Regions from separate parts of the Homo sapiens genome. Here all the other regions are linked to region 1. Evidence: promoter capture Hi-C in 16 types of primary human blood cells and fetal thymus (Javierre and others, 2016). All regions are on one chromosome and are shown on one strand. The core of a region is centred on a gene start or on the middle of the fragment in contact, and the rest is flanking DNA. Distances in the headings are between cores, read along the strand shown.

The links. The method cuts DNA at HindIII sites, captures the fragments that hold promoters and counts their contacts. A CHiCAGO score of 5 or more calls a contact.
Region 2: a contact is called between a fragment that was not itself captured here and the fragment with the promoter of OR2Y1 in region 1, in 1 of 17 cell types (monocytes). The highest score is 6.8, in monocytes.
Region 3: a contact is called between a fragment that was not itself captured here and the fragment with the promoter of OR2Y1 in region 1, in 1 of 17 cell types (neutrophils). The highest score is 7.5, in neutrophils.
Region 4: a contact is called between a fragment that was not itself captured here and the fragment with the promoter of OR2Y1 in region 1, in 1 of 17 cell types (monocytes). The highest score is 6.5, in monocytes.
Region 5: a fragment that was not itself captured here is called in contact with the fragment with the promoter of OR2Y1 in region 1 in 1 of 17 cell types (M1 macrophages); the score reaches 5.3 in M1 macrophages.

What each region holds. Positions count from the first base shown.
Region 1 is chr5:180,737,537-180,742,292 of GRCh38, reverse strand. It overlaps OR2Y1 (olfactory receptor family 2 subfamily Y member 1), which reads left to right and starts at 2,235. Exons shown (of 1, transcript NM_001001657.1): 1 at 2,235-3,170. The coding sequence starts at 2,235. The coding sequence ends at 3,170. The HindIII fragment of the contact is 9,223 bases long and covers 1-4,756 here.
Region 2 is chr5:181,079,422-181,084,177 of GRCh38, reverse strand. No RefSeq gene overlaps it. Among named protein-coding and RNA genes, the nearest start is that of TRV-CAC1-2, 15 kb to the left of the region's middle. The HindIII fragment of the contact is 5,034 bases long and covers 1-4,681 here.
Region 3 is chr5:181,060,402-181,065,157 of GRCh38, reverse strand. BTNL9 (butyrophilin like 9) reads right to left here. Exons shown (of 11, transcript NM_152547.5): 11 at 3,637-4,756. It also overlaps the pseudogene RPL13P10. Among named protein-coding and RNA genes, the nearest start is that of MIR8089, 19 kb to the right of the region's middle. The HindIII fragment of the contact is 3,034 bases long and covers 421-3,454 here.
Region 4 is chr5:181,035,792-181,040,547 of GRCh38, reverse strand. It overlaps BTNL9 (butyrophilin like 9), which reads right to left and starts at 282. Exons shown (of 11, transcript NM_152547.5): 1 at 116-282. RefSeq lists an enhancer at 2,839-3,765 and a silencer at 4,010-4,388. The HindIII fragment of the contact is 946 bases long and covers 1,617-2,562 here.
Region 5 is chr5:181,019,297-181,024,052 of GRCh38, reverse strand. No RefSeq gene overlaps it. Among named protein-coding and RNA genes, the nearest start is that of BTNL9, 19 kb to the left of the region's middle. The HindIII fragment of the contact is 4,483 bases long and covers 1-4,309 here.

The DNA of each region.
Region 1 (4,756 bases), core at 986-3,485:
CTCCAGCCTGGGCGACAGAGCGAGACTCCGTCTCAAATAAACAAACAAACAAACAAACAAAAACAAGAAGCATTGCCAATGTATTAATGTCTTCATGTTGCATGGGAAACAAATCTTTCTGGAACATTTGTGTGCATTGAATATGGCGCCAGCTTTAGGAACGTGTTCATTCATTCATTCAATAATATTTGCTGAGAACATTTTATTCACCAGGTTCTGCACTGGAAGATAAGGATACAACGGTAAGTGAAAGACTCAGTTGCATGGAACTTGAAGATTACTGATACAGACAGACAAGTGTTAAAAGTATATGTAACATATTCTTTGTAGCTTACGGAATGTATCGCATCCTTTAATCCCAATCCAAATCCTTTGAAATAAATTGTTTTCTCTGTTTTATAGGTAAGTAAACTGAGACTCACAGAAACAAAATTTCCCAGAATAGATGTCACAGCTGGTCAGCAATAGAGTTGATCTGTAGGGACCGATATGAATGGGAAAGCCATTGTGGTCTGCTATGGTGGTCATTCAAAAAATGGCTTTGATGTATCGGTTAAGCTACATATGAATTACCTCTTTGCTATTATTAATCCACAGTTTATTCATCTTTTCCACAAGGGCATCAAGGGTGGTGTCCAAATGCCTTACTTGAGTCATTGATCTAGCATTGATCTAGCATTGATCCATTGATGATGATCTTCAGTCCAGTAAACTTAACAAAAAGAGGACAGAGTTAATTTGGCAAAAATTGTTCATATAGAGCATATTCTAGGCTCCTTTTCCCTTTTTTGCTTTCTGACATACTTTCTTATAATCCTACTTAGACGTTTTGTCATAAGAAATGTGAACTTTAACGTAGAGCAAATTTTTATGCATATCTCACTTTCACAGTTTATCAAAATATGTTGGTAATCTCAGGTTTTCTAGAAGAAATAAATTTTGATGAGATTTGAAGGGATAACCTCATGTTTCACTCAATGAAATTTATTCAAAATCTACTATGTGCCCTGAATGAAAATATTAATTTAGCACTTTGTGTGTAGCATAAAGAAAGACACTACTTTTTTTTTTCTTTTTCTTTTTTTGAGTGCAGTGGCACAATCTTGGCTGACTGCAACCTCCGACTCCCAGGTTCAAGCAATTCTCCTGCCTCAGCCTCCTGAGCAGCTGGGATTACAGGTGCCCATCACCAAGCCTGGCTATTTTTTTGTTTTGTTTTGTATTTTTAGTAGAGACAGTGTTTCTCCATGTTAGCCAGGCTGGTCTCAAACTCCTGACCTCGGGTGATCCACCCACTTCCACCTCCCAAAGTGCTGGGATTACAGACGTGAACCACCGTGCCCCACTGAAAGACACTAATATTTATTTTACGTTCATTATGTTAGCTACCACTAAGGAGCTCACAGCTCAGAGAGGGACAAAGACATACAAAAAGAATTCCAGCGAGTGTGACAAGTGCAGAAAGAAACTGTACAAAGAGGGTTGGGCTAGAGAGGAGGAAATAACTCTTCTTGGGCAGCTGAGGAATGGATTTAGCCATTGAAGGGAGTGTGTATGTGCGTGTGTGCGTGTGTGTGTGGTATTTCAGGCATGATGACACACCATAGGAAATATATTTGTTGCTAATTGATTTTTTTTTCTTCTCCAAAAGGAGGGATCTACACTCTTCTCAGTCATTTGCTGGTCGTGCGTGGGGTTTCTGGGATTGTATGGGCTGTCCATAGTCGAAAAAAGCAGGTGGGCACCCAGAGGTCAAACAGGGCTCCCAGCCTGGTTAGGCATGGGGGGTAACCCTACTGAAAGAGGCCACCTGCTAGACCAGCAAAGGAGCAAATGGGAGCAACATAGAATAGTAATGCTACCTGTTACATCTGAGTCTTTTAAAAGCAGCTTCCACATTATTGCATTTGACCTTAATCTCATTGCTGTGATACATCATCTCTACTTTTAGGCAAGGAAATGTTGGATCTAAAGGACTGACTGACCTGGGTGAAGTCCTGGAACAAACAGGCAGCAGGACTAGGATTCAAACAAAGGCCATATGATTCCCAAGCCAGTGATTTCCACTCTGAATAAGAGAAGGGAAAGAACACCAGACACAACAAACTGCAGAGCAAAATAGGTAATAAAATGCATGATTTAGTATTCAGGGAATCCTGCGAAATAATGTTGTAGCTTGTGCTCAGTATAGGAGGCATTGCACTTCCTTCTGCTGTTCAGACAGGCAAAAGGCCATGGGAAGTTTCAACACCAGTTTTGAAGATGGCTTCATTTTGGTGGGATTCTCAGATTGGCCGCAACTGGAGCCCATCCTGTTTGTCTTTATTTTTATTTTCTACTCCCTAACTCTCTTTGGCAACACCATCATCATCGCTCTCTCCTGGCTAGACCTTCGGCTGCACACACCTATGTACTTCTTTCTCTCTCATCTGTCCCTCCTGGACCTCTGCTTCACCACCAGCACCGTGCCCCAGCTCCTGATCAACCTTTGCGGGGTGGACCGCACCATCACCCGTGGAGGGTGTGTGGCTCAGCTCTTCATCTACCTAGCCCTGGGCTCCACAGAGTGTGTGCTCCTGGTGGTGATGGCCTTTGACCGCTATGCTGCTGTCTGTCGTCCACTCCACTACATGGCCATCATGCACCCCCATCTCTGCCAGACCCTGGCTATCGCCTCCTGGGGTGCGGGTTTCGTGAACTCTCTGATCCAGACAGGTCTCGCAATGGCCATGCCTCTCTGTGGCCATCGACTGAATCACTTCTTCTGTGAGATGCCTGTATTTCTGAAGTTGGCTTGTGCGGACACAGAAGGAACAGAGGCCAAGATGTTTGTGGCCCGAGTCATAGTCGTGGCTGTTCCTGCAGCACTTATTCTAGGCTCCTATGTGCACATTGCTCATGCAGTGCTGAGGGTGAAGTCAACGGCTGGGCGCAGAAAGGCTTTTGGGACTTGTGGGTCCCACCTCCTAGTAGTTTTCCTTTTTTATGGCTCAGCCATCTACACATATCTCCAATCCATCCACAATTATTCTGAGCGTGAGGGAAAATTTGTTGCCCTTTTTTATACTATAATTACCCCCATTCTCAATCCTCTCATTTATACACTAAGAAACAAGGACGTGAAGGGGGCTCTGTGGAAAGTACTATGGAGGGGCAGGGACTCAGGGTAGGAGGTGAAAAAATGAGCAGTAAAATTTTCTGTAATAGCTCTTCAATCACAGATCTTTCCCTGTTCCTTGGAGGGCAGTTGGTCAGTAGGAAAGCCCTCAGTCATCCTCAGAATTGGTTTTTGTTTTTGTTTTTTGGTGGCGGGGGGAACAGAGTTTCACTCTTGTTGCCCAGGCTGGAGTGCAGTGGCACGATCTTGGCTCACTGCAACCTTGGATTCCTGGGTTCAAGTGATTCTCCTGCCTCAGTCTCCCGAGTAGCTGGGATTACAGGCACCCACCACCACGCCCTACTAATTTTTGTATTTTCAGTAGAGACAGAGTTTCACCATGTTGGCCAGGCTGGTCTCGAACTCCTGACCTCAGGTGATCCACTCGCCTCAGCCTCCCAAAGTGCTGGGATTACAGGTGTGAGCCACCGCGCATGGCCGTCCTCAGAGTTTTAGTCCCTTCCTTGTTTAGAAACTGGAAGTAGGGATCTCTTGGGACTCTTTCTTGCTCAGTGTCTGTGATCACTGTGCAGCCATCAGTAAGTGCTGGTTTTTATCACAACTTTCCAAAGGAACCAGCTTGAGAAGAGGGTGTATTGTGTCCACTTATGGAGAGTGGGATGGGTTCTAGGCAAGACTGAGAGTGATAGAAGATTTAATAGGGAATGACAACACCTTCCCAAGGTCAATGACTCCCAACGTGGTGCCATGCAGATGCACTGTGCCCAGAGGCAGACAGAATGAGTTCCCCCGATTCTAAGTAACTGCGACCCTGCCGTAGACGCTCACATCTCAGAACCCATTTCTAAGGTCTCTAACAGAGGTTATTCATGTCCGATATTTGGAGCAAATAAGGAGATCATAAACAGAGGTACTTCAAGGAGCATGCAGAGTTTCAGGTTTGGATGTCATTTACACACTTGAAGAAAAAGACAAAATCACTAGGGTGGCATTGAGTAAAGGGAGCATAGACTCTTACTAGCTACAACAGGAGTCTCTGTCATGCAGCTTGGTGCCATGGATAAGATATTTTCCATGCAAGAGAGAAGATAATAGAGAAGAAATGAACATATGAATAATGAGCCAAGAGGAATAGATATAGAAAAGAAGAAGGGATAAGGAGGAGTGACAACAATGAAAAAAAGAGATTTCTGTGGAAGGCAGTGGTGGGAGGCTCAAGAGGCTGAAGTGTGAAGACAATGAAAAAAAGAGACTTCTGTGGAAGGCAGTGGTGGGAGGCTCAAGAGGCTGAAGTGTGAAGACAATGAAAAAAAGAGACTTCTGTGGAAGGCAGTGGTGGGAGGCTCAAGAGGCTGAAGTGTGAAGACAATGGGTACCGGATATTCCAGCACTGTCACTGCATCCCACATTCTTGGCTTCATATCAAAGCGTGGCGTCCTTATTAATCAACTTTCACGGTCTTGGTAAATTTCATGTTGAGGGAATCATCTTTTATTCCAATAACAATAACTAATATTTGTTTATATCTGAAAAACCTTTTTGCATACAATGTTATTAGTCCTTACAGCTGTATTGTGAGAGTGAGTTTTGTTATAGTCCCTATTTATTCACAAGAAACTGAGGTTCAGAGAGTTTAAG
Region 2 (4,756 bases), core at 915-3,414, 340 kb before region 1:
CTCTTGCACTCTACCTATTATCCATGCATTTTCCTTGAACCGGGGCAACCGCGGATCTTTTTACTATTTCTATAATTTTGCGTTTTCCAGTATTTCGTGTAATTGAAACTATACAGTATGCAGTTTTTAGACTGGCTTCTTTCCCTTAGTAACATGCATTTATGGTTCCTCCGTGTCTTTTCATAGCTTGAGAGATCATTAATTTTATTGCTGAATAATATTCCATTATGAGGACAGAGCACAATGTGTTGATTCACCTTTTGAAGTGTATCTTGGTTACCTCCAGTTTTTGGCAATTATGAATAAAGCTACTATAAACATTCATGTTCAGATGCTTATATGGGCAAATGTTTCAACTCATTTGAGTAACTACCTAGGAGCATAATTGCTGGCTCATATGGCAAGGTTATGTTTAGCTGTGTAAAAAGCTGTCAGACTGTCTTCAGGTGACTATCGCTTGCCCCGTGCATGTCAGCATTTGGTGTTTGTCATTGTTTTAGATTTTAGCCATTTTTACATGTAGTGAAATCTCATTGTTTTAATTTGCAATTCTCTAATAATGAATGATATCAAGCATCTTTTCATATGTTCATTTGCCATCTGTACATTTTCTTTGGTGAGACGTCTCTTCAGATCTTTTGATCATTATTTTTATTCTTTGAGACAGAGTCTTGCTCTGTTGCCTAGGCTGGAGAGCAGTGGTGTAATCATAGCTCACTGTAGCCTCCAATTCCTGGGCTCAAGCGATCCTCCCTACTCAGCCTCCTGAGTATCTGGGACCACAAGCATATGCCACCATGCCCAGCTAATTTTTTATTTTTTTGTAGACCTGGGGTCTCGCTGTGTTGTGCAGGCCAGTCTCAAACTCCTGGCTTCAAGCAATCCTCCCGCCTCAGCCTCCCAAAGTGCTGGGATTACAGGTGTGAGCCACCACACCAGCCTGCATATTTTTTAATTGAATTGTTTTCTTATTGTTCAGTTTTTTTTGTTTTGTTTTGTTTTATTTTATGAGACAGAATCTTGCTCTTTCACCCAGCTTAAAGTACAGTGGCATGATCATGGCTTGCTGCAGCTTGCAACTCCCGGGCTCAAGTGTTCCTCCTGCCTCAGCCTCCTGAGTAGCTAGGACTATAGGCAAGTGTCACCACACACAGCACATTTAAAAAAAAAAATTTTCTCCCTATGTTTCTCAGGCTGATCTGGAACTCCTGGGCTCAAGTGAACCTTCCAACTCAGCCTCCCTAAGTGCTGGTATTGCTGGTTAATACAAGTGCCTCGTTAGATATGTATTCAGCAAATATTCTCTCCCGGTCTGTGCCTTGTCATTCCATTTCCCTAACAATGTCTTTGCAGAGCAGAAGTTTTTAAGTTCAGTGAAGTCCAACATACCCGTTTTTCTTCATAGATCATGGATCATGCTTTGAAAAACTTCCCCAGATTTTCCCCGGGTTCTCTTGTAAAAGTTTTGTAGTTTTGCATGTTAAATTTAGGTCTATAATCCATTTTGAGTTCATTTCTGTGAGAGGTGTAAGATCAGTGTCTGGATTCATGTTTTTTTCCTTTTTTTTTTTTTTTGGCACATGCATGCCTAAATATTCCAGCATCATTTCTTGAAAAGACCATACATTATCTGTTGAATTGCTTTTAATTCCTGTCAAAATATCAGTTAAGTATATTTGTGTGGATCTGTTTGTTCTCTATTCTTCTTCATTGATCTAGCTGTCTATTCCTTTGCCAACACTATACTTTCTTGATTATTGTAGCTTTATAGTAAGCCTTTAGGTAGTATTAGTCTTCCAACTTATTTCTTCTTCAATACTGTGTTGGCTCTCCTGGGTCTTTTGCCTTTTCATATAATGTTTAGAATCAGTTTGTCAGTATTTATAAAATAACCTGCTGGGATTTTGATTGGATTACATTGAATCTGTAGATGAAATTAGGAAGGATTGGCATCTTTAAAAGATTGAGCTTTCCTATCCATGAACATGGAATATCTTTCCATTTACTTAGAACTTTTTTTGATTTCATTAGATTTCCTTATATGGACCTTGTACCCATTTTTTTGATTTATTATTAAGTACTTTTTAAGTGCTAATGTTAGTGTTATTGTATTTTTAATTTTTAAATCCCAATTGTTTATTGCTGGCATATAGTAAAGCAATTGACTTTTGTTTATTAACTTTGTGTCCTGTATTTTAAAACTTATGATCTTTAAAATGGAGAGCAACCCTTCAATGATTAGGAGAGACACAAAATAGAAATAAAGATTTTATTACTTATAGGTTCTGGTAGTATATGACATGCTTGGAGGCCCCCCACACAGAGAGGTTAGTTTAGGGAGTACAGGCAGGGAGAAAGAATGCAGAAATTAGAAGTGTATGTTGGAGAATACACTGTGGGTGGCTTTAAGTTCAAGGGCAAATACCTGAATGGTCCATTTAAAGGAAGCGGTGGGAAAGTGGGGAGCCCAGTCAACTAGGCAGAAGAGGTTCCTCCAAGGTTTTTATCCTTGGCCACTGGCTTGGGCCATTAGGGTGTGGTGTTCTTCTAATACGTAGGCAGAAACCTCTGCTGTGTCAATACCATTGAAATTGACCCTGTAATGTCTAGGCATTAGACCTTGTGCCTTATCATGGGTGCCATTTGAGTAGCAGAGACACTAAAGGCTACTGGAGAAACCTGAGTCAGGCATCTGATGAGCATAATTAAACAAGCAGTCCGAAGGTACCCACTATGACTTGAAATCTCACGTGCAGCCATCCATCCCACTACATAGAGTATGCAGGGCTAGTCGAGTGGGCTGTATGTAGCTGTGCCATGCGGAGGTGGGCACCGGGAGGCAGCTGTGCACAGCAGATATCTGGACTGACCACCTTGAGGAACTGGGAGGAGATGTAGAACCTGAAAACTGTGTCAAGGGTGACTGAGCTCTCCTTCCGGCATAGGAAAGTTAAACTTCCCTGAAAAATGGGTGCTGAGGCAACATAAAATTATGATAATTCACTACATAGTAATCTTGCTGTAATCTGGCTGGTGCAGTGGCTGATGCCTGTAATCCCAGCACTTTGGGAGGCCGAGGCAGGCAGATCACCTGAAGTCAGGAATTCACGACCAGCCTTGCCAACATGGTAAAACCTGGTCCCTGCTAAAATGACAAAAATTAGCTGGGCGTGGTGGATCGTGCCTGTAATCCCAGCTACTCTGGAGGCTGAGGCAGGAGAATCGCTTGAACCCAGGAGGCAGAGGTTGCAGTGAGCCAAGATCAAGCCACTGCACTCCAGCCTGGGCAATAGAGTGAGACTCCATCTCAAAAAAAAAAAAAAAAAAGAAAGAAAAGAAAAGAAAAAATCTTGCTATAATCATCTGCTAGTTCAGGAGTTTTTGGTCAATACTTTGGTATTTTCTACATAGACAATCATGTCATCTGTGAAGAAAGACAGTTTCTTTTTTCCCCCTGATCTGTATAGCTTTAATTTCCTTTTTAAAATCTTCTTGCATTAGTTAGGACTTCAGTACAATGTTGAATAAGAATGATAGTAGGGGACATCCTTGCTCCTGATCTTAAGGAGAGAACACCTAGTTTCTCACTAACCATTAAGTATGATGTTAGCTAGTTTTTTTTCTGTGGATGTTTCTGTGTGTGTGTGTGTGTGTGTGTGTGTGTGTGTCTTTCTTTTTAGAGATGGAATCTCTCTATGTTGCCCAGGCTGATCTCAAACTCCTGGCCTCAAGCAATCCTTCTGCCTTGGCCTCCCAAAGTGCTGGGATTTTAGGCATGAACCAGCATGCTCTGCCTATAGATGTTCTTTATCAATTTGAGGAATTCCCCTCTATCCTAGTTTACTGAGAGTTTGTATCATAACTAGGTGTTGAATTTTGTCAAATGCTTTTCTGCATCTATTTATGTGATCATATGATTTTTCTTGCTTAGCCTGGTGATGGCATGAATTACATAGTTTTTTGTTTGTTTGTTTTTTTCGAGAGAGGGTCTCACTCTGTCGTCCAGGCTGGAATGCAGTGGCACGATCAGGACTCACTGCAGCCTCGGCCTCCCGGGCTCAAGACTTCCTCCTGCCTCAGCCCCGAGTAGCTGGGACTACAGGGATATGCCACCATGCGTGGCTAATTTTTTGTATTTTTTAGTAGAGACAGGGTTTCGCCATGTTGGCCAGGCTGGTCTGGAACTCCTGAACTTAAGTGATCTGGCTGCCTCAGCCTCCCAAAGTGCTGAGATTATAGGTGTGAACCATCTTGCCCGGCCTTGATTTGATTTAATACATATGAGTCTTTTCATATTGTCTCTTTTCTTAGTGTGAATTTCGGTAGATTGTATCTTTTAAGGAATTAGTCTATTTCATCCAAGTTATCAAATTTGTGAGCATAGTTGTTGAACATATTTTATTATACTTTTAATGTCCCTGAGATCAGTAGTAATGTCCCATTTTTCATTTCTGATATTAGCAATTTATGTCCTTTCTCTGTTTTTTGTTAGCCTCACTGTAAGTTACCAATTTTACTGGTCTTTTCAAAGAACCAGCTTTTGATTTTATTGATTTTTTTTTTTCTATTTGTCTTTGTTTTCAATTTCATTGATTTTTGCTCTAATTTTTATTATTTCTTTTTTTCTGCTTTTTCCAGGCTTATAGTATGCTTTTTTCTCTGGTTTTCTAAGATGGAAGCTTAGATTATTGATTTTAGATCTTTGTTCCTTTCTGATATAGGCATTTAATGCTATAAATTTTCCTTGTAGCACTGC
Region 3 (4,756 bases), core at 688-3,187, 320 kb before region 1:
CATGGTTGTGTGCCGCTGTCAGCCCTTGTGAGAGAGGGGTTTGAACTTAATGCCACTCCAGCTGGGGCCCCTGGCTGCCTACAGCCCTCCTGCACTGGAAAACAGCCTGCCCATCATTTAAAGTGGGCTGATGGTGTCCACTGATTATTTAAACACAGTTTAGCATTGTTTTTTATATTAGCTGTATGTTTGCTTTTCTTATTTATCACATAAATACAGTCTTAAAGGAATAATAGCTACAGATGGAGAGGGAACATATTTTTAATGTTATCACAAAAACATTCATGAGTAAGAACCCTAAATATTCTCACACTAATGCAAATGACTCTAGAAAAAAAAACTTCCATTTTCTGAATATCATGTGTTAATTAAGGGGAATAGCTTTCTCCCAACAGGTGACCAAGAATATTTTCATAAGCTTAAAATGCACTTATCTGACTTGATGGAGAAACAAATTACAATCTCCCTCTAGAATTGCACAAACAATGGTCTCTGGAGCTGGCATCTCATGAGAGCTGATCATGGGTGTCTCTTCCTGCTATGGTCTGAATGTGTCCCTCTCCACCATGCCCCACTCACATGTTGAAATCGTAACACCCAATGCAATGTAGTAGGAGGTGGGACTTTTGGGAGGTGCTTAGGTCATGAGGGTGGAGTCCTTATGATGGGATTAATGCACTTGTAAAAACAGACCTGTTAGAGGCTGGGTGGCTCACGCCTTTAATGCCAGTCCTTTGGGAGGCCGAGGAGGACAGATCATGAGGTCAAGAGATCGAGACCACCCTGGCCAACATGGTGAAACCCTGTCTCTACTAAAAATACAAAAATTAGCTGGGTGTGGTGGTGCATGCCCGCAGTCCCAGCTACTCTGGAGGCTGAGGCAGGAGAATCACTTGAACCCAGGAGGTGGAGGTTGCTGTGAGCTGAGATCGCGCCACTGCACTCCAGCCTGGCGACAGAGTGAGACTGTCTCAAAAACAAAAAACAAACAAAAAAAACAGAAACAGACCCTGGTAGGGGCTGGATGAGGTAACTTATGCCTGTAATCTCAGCAGTTTGGGAGGCTGAGGTAGGTGGGTCACTTGAGGCCAGGAGTTCCAGACCAGCCTGGGCAACATAGCAAGACCCTGTCTCAATTTAAAAGACAAAAATATAAACGGACCCTGGAGAACTCTCTTGCTGTCTGCCATGTGAGGATACAAAGCAAAGCAGCAGTTTGCAACCCAGAAGAGAACCCTCGCCAACCCTGACCGTGCTGGGACCCTGATCCTGGACTTGCAGCCTCCAAAACTGTGAGAAATAAATTTCTGTTGTTTACAAGCCACTCCGTGTATGGTATTTTGTTACAGCAGCGAGAGCTGACTAAGGCACTTCTTCCGTGTGTGGTATTTTGTTACAGCAGCGAGAGCTGACTAAGGCACTTCCTCCATGTGTGGCATCTTGTTACAGCAGCGAGAGCTGACTAAGGCACTTCCCCCGTGTGTGGCATCTTGTTACAGCAGCGAGAGCTGACTAAGGCACTTCCCAGTCTGCCCTCAGTGGTGTCACATCTTTAGCTTGAAATCAACCATAGTGGGAGGACTTGCACCAGGGAAATTGGCTCAATATTTTTTTTTTCAGAAAGCCAGTTTTTTTTTTTTTTTTTTTTTTTTTTGAGACAGAGTCTCACTCTGTCGCCCAGGCTGGAGTGCAGTGGTGCAATCTCGGCTCACTGCAAGCTCCGCCTCCCGGGTTCACGCCATTCTCCTGCCTCAGCCTCCCGAGTAGCTGAGACTACAGGCACCCGCCACCGCGCCCAGCTGATTTTTTATATTTTTAGTAGAGACGGGGTTTCACCGTGTTAGCCAGGATGGTCTTGATCTCCTGACCTTGTGATCCACCGCCTCGGCCTCCCAAAGTGCTGGGATTGCAGGCATGAGCCACCGCGCCCAGCCTAGAAAGCCAGTTATTAAACATTTATCAGACACCACTGCATTTCTTTATCATTCTCTCTCTCTTTTGTTTATATTACTATATGTCTTAATGAACCATTTGAAAATAAGGTATAAACATCATAATCCTTTACCCCTTAATATGTAAGTGTGCATTTTCTTAAAAGCATTCTTCTACATCAAAATGAGGAAATTAACATTTATCCAATATTATTATCTAATCCACACACCTCTTTCAAAATGCCCTTTTTTCCCCCAATAATCTCCCCCCGCCGGACTCGAGCAATCATTCCACCTTAGCCTCCGAAAGTGCTGGGATTACAGGCCTGAGCCAATTTGTCTGGCCCAGTGATGTTTTTTATAGATCCAGGATCCCATCCAGGGTCACCTGTTGCACTTAGTTGTCCTGTTTCCTTTAGTCTGAAGCAGTTCCTTAGTGTTGTCCCGTCTTTCATGACCTTGACATTGTTGAAGAGTACCAGTCAGTTTCTGTGATGTTTCCTCCTGATTTATGCATTTTTGGGTGCAGGAATACCTCAAAAGTGATGCCGTTTGTATTCTGCATTGTATCAGGAAGAATGTGATGTAAACTGTTTTCGCATCTGGTGATGTTAACTTTTGTCATTTGGCTAAGGTGGCGCCTGCCAGCCTCCTCCACTGTAAAGTTAATTGGTACGTGTTTTGTACTTATGAGTTAAGAAGTAATATTTTCAGACTCCTATTGTAGGGCAGAGCTTTCTCTTCTCTCCATGAATTTGTTTATGTATGTATGTATGTATGTATGTATATCAGTGGGGAAATATACATATGGATTCCTATTTGATTCAGGGGTTCAAAATCCATTCTGACGTCTAAATCCATTCGACATGGCTCTTCTGTGCAACCTACTTCCTTATTTTCTGGTGTAGGATATTGTAGGCTCTCCTTGTATTTTCCCTGCCCCAGCCTTGGACTCAACCATTTCTCCAAGGAGACTTTATTCCTTTTACTGAAAATCGTACTAAAAACTAAGTTCTGGGTCTCGGTGTGCCCGTTGGTACTGGGGTGTTATTGTTGCTAAGCCTTCAAACAAGACAGAGCTGGGAACGATCTGCATGCACCCACACATATCTGTGTATCTGTCCACGTGTGTGCGTGCATTCCATCTCTCTACATGCAGTAAAACCCACGCATTCACATTGATACATCTCATTCCAGTCCACCTCAGAGTCACCCTCATCCTCTCCTTTCCCCTTTCCGTATTTCGTATTTCCCTTCACTGACAGCGAAACCCGACTCTCAGCGCACTTAGTGAATTCCCGACTCTCAGCGCCACTTAGTGAATTTTTTTATTTGTGCCACCTCCCTCTGGTACGTAACCGAACTCCCGGGCCTGTGGGGCGAAAGCTCATCCCAGAGGTGTCCCTGCCCCATCCGTTCCCATCCTGGTGCTAAAGGCCCTAGTAGAAATCTCAGTCCCCATGAAGAGGAAAAGAAAAGGAGAGGGAAAGAGGGAAGAAGGAGGAAAGACCAGTTAGAAAGCTTGGCTGCGGACCAGTCTCCCTTCCTCATTCCCCCTTTCAAACAAGACGGGCAAGGAAAGCTCTGCCTGGATTAAGGGGAAGGGGATGAGAGCCATATTTACTTACTCTGAAACAATGGCCTAGGAGATCGTCCAGCAGTTTCATTATAGCTCCTTTCAAATGAATGATTTTGAATATGAGTATTTAAAAAAAGTGTTTTCCCCTTTATTACAGAACTGATACATATACATTATTGAACATTAAAAAATACAAAGAAGACATTTTAAGAATGCAATTACCAAACATTTTCCCATCCAAAGATAATCACTTAGTTTTTTGGTGTATCCTTCTCCCCGCCACCCAACTCTTAGTTTGCAAAATTTCAAACCCACAGCAAAGCCACATTGATAGTACAATGAACATCTGTCGACCAGTCACCTAGAGTCACCAAGTGTTGTCATTTTACTACATTTGACTTGTCTCTTTCTTTCTTTATATTCATATGTTTTATATTTTTCCACTTAGTCACTGGAAATTCAGTGGCAGACACTGTGGTAATTAATATCTAAAAACTTCAGTATGTTTGCTAAGAACAAGAATGTTCTCCTACATAGCCACAGTACAAATGTCTCACTCTGAAAATGAAGCCAGGCACAGCGGCTCATGCCTGTACACCCAGCATTTTGGGAGGCCCAGGTGGGAGGATTGCTTGAGCGCAGGAGTTTGAGACCAGCCTGGGTAACAAAGTGAGACCCCCGTCTCTATAACGCACTTAAAATTGGGCATGGTGTTGTGTGCTGAGGTGGGAGGATCACTTGGACCCAGGAGGTTGAGGCTGCACTCCAGCCTGGCCGACAGAGACAATGTCTTGGGGGTAGGGGGTGAAGAACACTTCTTTCCCCAGTTGTCAAACTAATAATGTCCTTGGTCCCATCATTGATGATGTTAAATTTAATCACTTGGATGATCTGGTAGATGTCTCCATTGTAAAGGTAACCTTTCCCCTTTCAAACTTATAAGTAGTGTATAAGGTTACTGCTTTGAGACTGGAAACAGCCTGTTCTCCAAGACTCTCACCAATAATTAGATTTCACCTCCAAAAGAAACCTTCCTGTTTCTCCTTTTTAAAAAGAAATTTGAGTATCAGCATGAACTCATGGATTATGTTTTTATTCAGTGTGTTATAATCTCTCCTGTCATTATTCATCCTGATGTTCAAATTGTCCCACAATTGGTCAGTGAGGCCCCTTCGGCCTGGCTCCCTACCCTTTTGCCGGGTTGCCGTCACGTTTTGAGCCTTTATTTTACTTCACCACACACAAT
Region 4 (4,756 bases), core at 840-3,339, 300 kb before region 1:
GATAATAAAATGGTGCCACTAATTGTACGCCTTCCCAAAGCCTCCCACCTTCATTTTCTGATTGCCGTTTCTGAAAGATGGAGGTGTAGGCAGCTGTTGAGAATGAGCCACTTACCTGGCAGGTAGCAGCAAAAGGTCTGAAATGGCAGATGAGTCCTGGTGAGCTCACCTCCTCTGCAAAGGGTGATGATTGCTGTAAAGTGTCTTGGTCCCAGATGCTAAGATTCCCTAGACGTGGACTGGCAGCTGAGCTCCAGAGGCCAGGGCACGTGTGACAGAATTATTTATCCATCTTCCACCCTAAGATATATGCCGTTTGCTCTGCCCTTGGCTATGGAAACCAAGATGGATAGAACAAAACAAGGAAGTCGTCACATCCTGTCTCTGAGAAAAATCTTGAATTCCCATGTAAAATATCTCTCCAGGGTCACAGAAGGAGGGGAAAGGTATCTGAGAGCTTTGTAGAGAGCGACAGCTGCAGAGGCTCAAAGTGAGGAGAAAACGCTCCAGCTGGGTTCAGGGTCTTTGTGCCAGTGAAGCTCGGACTCCAAGGAGGCAGGGTAGCAGTCCCCGAACAGTGAAAGAGAGTAGACTGCAGTCTCCACTAACTAACCACGAGGAAGGGGCTGATGACCAATTTTTAACCCACCATAACCTTCTCCTCAGGACAAGGTCAGTAAGGAACAAATCCTGGGGGCATTGTCGTGAGGCAACCTGCAAAACCTGTTCACGTGCAACTTAGAAATGCAGGAGGGTGCTGGATTGGGATTTCTCTAGTGGAGAAGAGGTCAGAAAAGAAGCAGCAAGCACTACCCCAGCCCAGCCCACCCCATCTTACTGTAGGCCATGGTGCAACTTGGGCATTAGCGGACTGAGGCACCAGCCACCCAGCTGCAGCCCACACTGACGTCCCCTCCAGGGAACAGGCCAGAGCTGAGGCACGAGCAGCTCAAGCACATGCAGTGTTGTGGGAAACTGAGGACCGGAGAGACCGATGTGAAGAACAGGAGGATTGTTTATTTTAGGTACACACCGGCTCAGTGGACTCACATCCAAAAAGCTGAGCATTAAACAAAGACAGAGCGGGGTTTTTGTAAGTGGACTTACAATAAATAAAACAAAAGCAGCTAATCATGATAGGTCACATAATCTATAGCATAGCATAACTTGTGGCCTTGCACAGCGGGTGACTTTGTAGCTGCATTGAAAGAAAAACAAGAACTGGCTAAGTACAGACATTTGTAAAACACAATCATGCTTAAGAAGCCTGGGAAAACAGTAACAGTAAAAGAATTTGTCTTTCTCTCTTTTTCCTTCAACCTTGCTCTGGAAGTGGGGCGGCGGGTATCTGGAGCCCATTCCTTTGGCCTTGGCTTTCTGGACACTGTTATAACTGTCCTTGCAGTGGGCTTGCTATAGGCAGAGGAAAACTTGTCCTTTACTTTTTAACCCTTGCCTTGCCTGTTACTTTTCTTGGAGTGAATGAAGGCATATGTATTTTTAAATTTTCTGCCTCAGTAGCACACCCCAGGGACTCCCAGAAGTGCCTGTGTTTGTAGAGGGGCCTCTGCAGGTGACAGGGCGCTACATGGGTGGGAGACGGGAGCCAGCAAGCTTCAGGCATGGACCTGGAGGTGACTGTCTGTGCTCAGACAGGCTGGTGAGACTGGGCACCCAGGCTTATTAATGTGAACAGATGTCCCTAGGACAGCAAAAGGGGCTGAACAGTGAGCTCAAACAGTGGGTGCAGTTCCCCGGGCCTGGGGAGACAGAGGAGGGCTCAAGGACAGGGTATACTTAAGATGGATGCTGCATAAACAGTAGGATCAGGGAAGCCATGGGCAGCCCGGGAGGACAGAGCCTGCGAGGACAGACATTCTTCGTGGAGGGAGGTGATTAGCATGTGGGAGGTAGGAAAAGGCTAGGGGTTAGCCAGACCAGTGTGTGGCTCACTAGTGGAAGGGAAGGTTGAACAGAAGTGGATGGGACCACATTGCAGAGGCCCTTGCATGCCACATAGGGAAGTGAAAGAGAAGGAAAATTGCACTTGTAGAGAGGGGCTGCTCGAAAACGAGAACATGGCCTAAACTTTTCATTGCCCTTAGGTTGGATTCCTCCATGCTGCCTGGGGAGAGGTGAGATTGTCACAGCAGAAATGCAAAGAGAGAGAGAAATGGGCAGAGTCCACTTCTGTGGCTCCTAGACACAGCCCTGGTGGGATGTGGGAGGGGGACCCCACCTGCCACCACCGCCTGCATATCAGGCGCATCATGCAGTAGGAAAGATGTAGACAGCGGCTGTCCCTGCCAGCCGAACCTCCCATTCCAAGACCCAGTAAATGCATAAAGGCTCAGATCCAAAATGAAGGTAGGTGCTGAACCCCTGGCGGACTATAGGTGCCACTGGAGAGAATGGACCCTCATCTGTCCTTGTGTGGGATTTTTGGGTGTCAATTTTCTTCCCAGAAACCTCTGTGGCACCTGAGTTCTTGTCCTGCCTCCAGGAAGAATGAGGTCATGAGGTACACAGACAAGTGAAGGGTGAAGAAGATGCAGAGAAGCTTTATTGAATGCTAGAACAGCTCAGAGGTGATCTGCAGTGAGCTCCTCTCTGTAGGTAAGTCCTCCCCTCCCACTGAGTGTTCAGCTCTCAGCAGAGAAGGCCCTTGAGAGGGTAGCTCCTCTCTGCCCACTGGTCCTCCTGCCACCTGCTGCTCTCAGCAGACAGAAGTCCCTGGAGAGAGTGGCTCCTCTCCACAGGCAAGTTGTTCTGAACACCTCTGCAGGTCTCTGAAGCTCTCAGCAGAGAGGGTAGCTCCTCTCTGCAGCTGGCCATCCCATCGTTTCTCCATCCTCTGCCCTGCTCTGGCTGAGCCTCAGGCTTTTATGCACCTCAGAGGGGAGGAAGTGCATGCTGATTGGTCCATGGGCAGCCAGAGGGAGACACCACAAGTCCCCACTCCAGTCAGAGGGACTGGCAGCCAGGCCTTCAGGCCCTCCCTGGCCTGAAGGCGGGGCCTTACTGGGGACCCGCCTTCTCCCTCCAGGGACTCTGTCTGCCTCCCACTGCCATTTATGGTCCCTGGCTAGGCCCCAACCCCGCTCTGAGAGTGGGAGCAGAGAGAGGCCAGGCAGTGGGAAGCAGACAGCCCTGAGCCTGCAGGGATGGGGGTTGGGGGGCTGGGTACAGGGTGGTTCTTCCCAGGCCCTGGAGGTGCAGAATGCACAGATGCCGGGGTCCTGCTCCTGGGAGGGTGGCCGAAGCTGCACCCGGGGAGCTCCTGCCCCATCAATTCGGAAGGGGCAGGGCTCCTGCTTGTCCTGGCTCCTGCCTCCTCCGTGGAGCAGGAGGCTGAGGTCTGCAGCTGTGGGTTGGGTGGCTGCAGCTGCACGCAGAAGGGCAGATCCTGCCTGCCCCTGGCTCCCACCCAGGAGCTCAGGGAGGCTTGGATCCACAGCTGCAGTTTGGGTGGCTGTAGACCCACACAGGAGGGTTGGGATCCTGCCTGATCTGTACAGCAGGAGGCCTGGGTCTGCAGTCACAGTTTGGGTGACTGCAGCGGTACCCGGGGAGCTCCCGCCCCATCTCAGAAGGGGCAGAGCTCTTACTGGCTCCGTGAAGTATGCAGCCCCAGCCAGGCCTCCCTGCTGCAGCCCCTGTGATGGCAGCGGCCATCACGTGGAGGGAGGTGATTGGCACGTGTGGGGTAGGAAAGGCTAGGGGCTAGCCAGGCCAGCATGGAGCCATCACTTGGACAGCGGAGAACATGCCCCATTATATAGCTTCCGTGGTGCACAGCAGCCCTCACCATGAGGTCGTCTGAGGGAATTCTGGAGGGGCTAATGGGAGAATCCTCATCCCCAGGGCAAAGGCTATTCTCACGCCCAGCGTGGGCTACCAGTGGAGATAGAAGCAAAGTCATGCCAGCCTCGCAAGTAGTGAATTCCTCCTTTTCTGACGATCCCCCATCCACCTTCCCCGGCAGCCCACAACATGGCCCTTGAGCTTCCTTACTGCATTTTCATTTTCTCCTGTTCCGTTCTCCAGGGAGCTCACACTGACATTCTTGTGCCTGTCAGCTGGCACAGTGCCCCCCATTGTGCTTTGTCACACAGATAGAGACGTGCACAGGCACTGGGAGATAGGAGAGGCCCACTGCTGCCCTCACAGCCACAGGTGCTCATCTTTGGCTCCTGAGATTGTGGGGGCTGCAGGAGCCACACACACCCTCTACTCCCAAACAGCCTGACCTCGCCAAGGCAAGCCATTTTCGAGGGTGACTTGAGTGGTGCTGCCCAAAGGGATCAGCACGGAGCATCCCTAGCTCGGAGGAATTCCTTCACTGCAAGAAGTAGCCAGCACCTTCTCCTGACACACAGAAGTGGGTAGAATAAGGAGCTCCAGCTGCGGGCTTACGCCAGGTAGAGTGAGCATTGGTTATGGAGGAGACCCCGTGAGAACAGCGCTCATCTGAGTCCCGACCATTGGTTATGGAGGAGACCCTGTGAAAACAGTGCTCATCTGAGTCCCGACCATTTGTAGGAGGGAAGTGGGTTGGTGCCCTTATATTACACCTTTTCAGAGAGCCAGCCAAAACGCAGTTTGACAGGGTTTGAGTTGCATAAACAGGTGGTAATAATAATAATAATAAACTAGGGGGAGCTGAGCGTGGTGGCTCACGCCTGTAATCACAGCACTTTGAGAAGCTGAAACAAGGGTCTTGTTTGTGTCCAGGAGTTCGAGAGCCCAGAAGTTC
Region 5 (4,756 bases), core at 819-3,318, 280 kb before region 1:
TACAATGTGGGCTCCTTCTCTGGGGTAGTGCAGTTCAGGGATGCCAGGCAGCTCCCCCAACGGGGCTCAGGGCCTGTGGGCGCTGCAGGATTCTCTAGCAGCAAAGATTGCAGGTATCTGTGATATCAGTGGGGATTCCTGGGGGCCTCCTGGTTACCTTTTTCCTGCTGGGGGAAGTGCCTTTTTTTTTGAGTTAATCCTGGCTGGGAAGACAGTGTAGCAGAGGCTGAGTGTCCTCATTTTGCTTCTATGCAGCCCTTCCAAACGGTCTAGTTACATCATGTTTCCTGTCTTTTCCTGCTGTACGCCAGCATTCTCCCTTATACACTACAGTGCAAGTGTAGTTATTTATTCATCATTTGGGTCCTGTTTTTTTTTTTTTTTTTTGGTGTGGGGAGTACAGGCATTAGGGTCCTCTAGCAAACCATCTTTTGAACTCATCCTTTTTATCAGGAACTCACTGCTGTGATTACTGATCCACTCCTGTGATAATAGCATTAATCTCAGAACCATAAGACAAGGCAATTATAAATTTTTAAAAATAGCTGCATTAATCTATTCATGAGACCAGAGAGTCCTTATGACTTAATCACCCCTTAAAAGTCCCATCACTTAACACTGTTACAATGGCAATTAAGTTTCAACATGAATTTTGGCAGGGACATTTAAACTATAGCACAGTATATAGTTGGGCCTTTTTAAAAAAATTCATTCAGCCATTACTTTTTTTGAATGGAGAATTTAATTCATTTTCATTCAAAGTAAATACTGTTAAGTATTTACTATTACCGTTTTGTAATTTTTGTTTTGTAGATCCTTTTTTTCTTTCTTTCTTTTTTAGTCTCCCTTTGTAGTTTTATAGTTCTTTTGTAGTGGTATACTCTGAATCCTATTTATGTTTTGTTTTGTGCATCTACTATGTGTTTTTGCTTTGTGGTTATCATGAGGTTTAACTAAAATATCTAACAGTTGTACATTTTTGTCCCCTACACACACACATTTTATCTTTTGATATCAGAATTTATGTAATCTTGTAATTTGTATTCCTTAACAATTTATTTTTTAATAGTTTTGTCTCTTAACCGTCATACTAGAGATAAAATTGCTTTAACACCACCTTTCTAGTCCTAGAGTTTTCTGAATATGACTCGGTTACCAGTACCATTGTTTTGTGCTTTCATGTGTTTTATGGTATTCATCAGTGGCCTTTCATTTCAGTGTAAAGCACTCTCTTTCCTGTAAGTCAGGCATAGTAGTGATGAATTCTCTTAGCTTTTGTTTGTCTGGGAAAGATCTCTCAGCACAAACACTACTGAGGAGAGAGTGGGATGATACATTCAAAGTGAAGAAAAAATAACCAAGAATACTTTACCCAGAAAAGTTGTCCTTTAGAAATGAGAGAGAAATAAAATCTTTCCCAGACAAACAAAAGCTAAGAGAATTCATCACTACTGTGCCTTAGGAGAGAGTGTGATGATACACTCAAAGTGAAGAAAAATAACCAAGACTAGTTTACCCAGCAAAGTTGTCCTTTAGAAATGAGGGAGAAATAAAATATTTCCCAGACAAACAAAAGCTAAGAGAATTTATCACTACTATGCCTGACTTACAGGAAAGAGAGTGCTTTACACTGAAACGAAAGGCCACTCCCTCATTTCTAAAGGACAACTTTGCTGGGTAAAGTATTCTTGGTTATTTTTTCTTCATTTTGAATGTATCATCCCACTCTCTCCTCAGCAGTATTTCTGCTGAGAGATCTGCTGATGGCTGTATTGATATTTCCTTGTATGTGGTATGTTTCTAATCTCTTTGCTTTGAATTTTCCTTTGCTTTTTGGTAGTTTGACTATTATGTGTCTTGGTGAACTCTTCTTCAGTTTAAATTTAATTGGGGACCCCTGAGCTTCCTGTACCTGAATGTTGGTATCTCTTCCCAGATTTGGGATGTTTTTAGCCATTATTTCTCGTAACATTTTTTCTCATCTTTTTTATTTCTCTTCTTCTGCAACTCCTATTATGCAAAAATTAGTTTTCTTGATGGTATTCTATAACTCATGTAGTCTTTCTTCATTTTTATTCTTTTTCTTTTTGCTCTTCTGACTGGATAATTTTTAAAATTTCTGTCTTTGAGCTCATCAGTTCTTTATTTGCCCTGATTGAGTCTGCTGTTGAAGTTTTCTGTTGACTTTTTTTGGTTCAGTCATTGTATTCTTAATCTCTAGGATTTATATTTGGTTTCTAAAAATTGTTTCTATTTCTTGGTTTATTGATCTATTTTTTCCAAATTTTATTTAATTTTTTATCTGTATATTCTTATAGTTCATTGAAATTCTTTAAGAGAATTGTCCTGATTTTTTTTGCCAGTCATTACATAAATCTACATTCCTTTATAGTTCATGCTTCCCTCTTTCTAATCCTTATGTCCCCGTGTTGGCATCTGTACATTTGAGGAGACTGCCACCTCTTCCAGCCTTTACAGGTATTCATTCACAGGAATTAACCTTCACTGTTTAGTTTAGCCTGTGATTCTGGATGGGCCAGCTGGTAGTGACCACAGGCAGGTAGAGCTTGCTGTTGAGTTCTCTAGTTGGGTGGGCTGATGCCTTTTATCTGAGGTCAAGTGGGGCTCCTGGCTGGGCTCTACTGTCCAGCGAGACCACTGGCTAGGCTCTGCGATCACGTGGAACTGCTGACTGGGCACTGCAGTTACCACTAATGAGGCCAGGTCACAGCATATATTCCCTGGCCAAGCAGTTTTGCTATTTGAGTTCTGCAGTTGGACAGGACTGCAGGATGGACCCAAAGGCAAGGCAGAATGCTGCTCAGGATGAACTAGACTAGAGGCTGTGCTCAGTAAACATGCATGATATGGGCTTGCTCTCCAGCTTTGGGGTGAGCTCTGGGGTTGGTTCAAACTGCTCTGTGGTCTCCTGTGTTGGGCAGGTCCAGCCCCTGTGCTCTGTAAAAATGTGTGGTGGCAGGTATCTCCCTGCTTGGGCAGAGCCTTGGGTGGGCTTTGTAGCTGGGTCAAGTGTCTGTTTGGCCTCTCATGTCAAGTACATGTGGCCCTTGTGCTTTGCCTAAACACACTGTGGTGGAAATTTTCATGCCTGAGTAAGGCCTTGGCATGGGCTGAGGCTGGTCACGGAGGCTGGCCATCTAGGTACTCAAGCCAGTTTGAACAACTTCTGGGAGAAACTAGCTGAGGTTTGTGGGTGGATTCTGCCATTGGCTGGCACTTCTGACTGGGCACCATCACTGGCAGGAACACAGAGCTACCCGAACAATCCATGTTACCATCACTGTGACCTCTGCTTCACTTCTTTGTTTCCACCTGACCCACGACAGTCTAGTCTTGCCCATACTTTCAGTGTTCCCCGTGAGAAAGGGCCAGAGTGGTAGGCCTCCTGGGAAGCATTTTAGAATGCTAGGGAAGCTGGATGTCTGCCTCTGGCCCTCTTCTCACTGTAGAAATTACGCATCAAAGTGAATCTTCTCTGTGTGGTGCTGTGTGGAGTTGGGGGAGGGGGAGGAGCAACGTGGTCAAAGCGAGACCATACCTCTTACCCTTCTAATATGGTTTTTATTTGGCTCTGTGGTCCACATAGTTGTCTCAGGCTCATTCCCAAGTTTTGGAGTTTTCACAGAGGTGTTCTTGTCTGTGGATGGTTTCTAGTTGAACTTTATGTTGGGGGAGAAGTGAAGCATGGGACTTCCTATTCTGCCATCTTGCTGATATCGCTCTCTAGCCTAACTCCTGATTTGGGACCTACAACACAGCTCCCTACCCACTACCCTAAGGGGAAAACTCAGAGGAAGGCCCCAGGAGGCAGGGTCCTTAGAGCCTCCAATAGCTAATTTCTACAGAGATTTGACCCTGACACTATCCTGGGTCTCAGTAACAGCCACCAGGACCTGTGTTCCTGTATATAGCTGCTTTGATTTGTTTTATTCACCTTTGTTATGAAAAGCAACATGGAGGTTGGGATTTTTGAGGGGAGAGGTTCATTATATTGGCACTCATTGGTTCTATTTTGACTACCATATTATGTAATATTAACTTTTTACTGTTTCTTATTCATAATTTTCGTCCTTATTTACTTTGGGTGGCACAGTGAATGACATCCTTCAGTTATGATTAAAGATAATTGCTCTAATATTGGAAGTTAGGGATTTTTTAAAAGCCTTGTTTCATTACTATTTGATGTGTGCTAACACTAGTTGAATCTCTGAAACTGTTTCACATTTCCTGGTTTCCACTGCCATTATAATGAACTGAAACACCGATGAATCATGTTTTTCATTAAGCTTTTCATTTGGAGATAATTGTACACTTAAAGTTGCTTTTTAAATGATAGTTTTTATTTTAAAACAATTTTAGACTCACTGGAAGTTGCAAAAATAATACAGAGTCTTGAGTACCTCCAAGTAAGCTTTCTCCAATGGTAATATCAGACATAGCTATGGAACAAGACCAAAATTGGGAAATTGACATTGATACAATTAATTGGATTACAGGCCTAATTCATATTTTACTAGTTCATATATGTGCTCATTATAACATATGTATGTCTGTAGTTTTTCACAATTTTATTACATGTATAGATTCATAAAACCACCATCATAATCAAGATGCTGCTCCATCACCATGTAAGAACTCCGTCATGCTGTACCACTATGGTCAAACCCTCCATCCGCTTCACTAATCCCTGGCAACAACTTATGTTTCCTCCATCTCTGTAGTTTTATCATTTTGG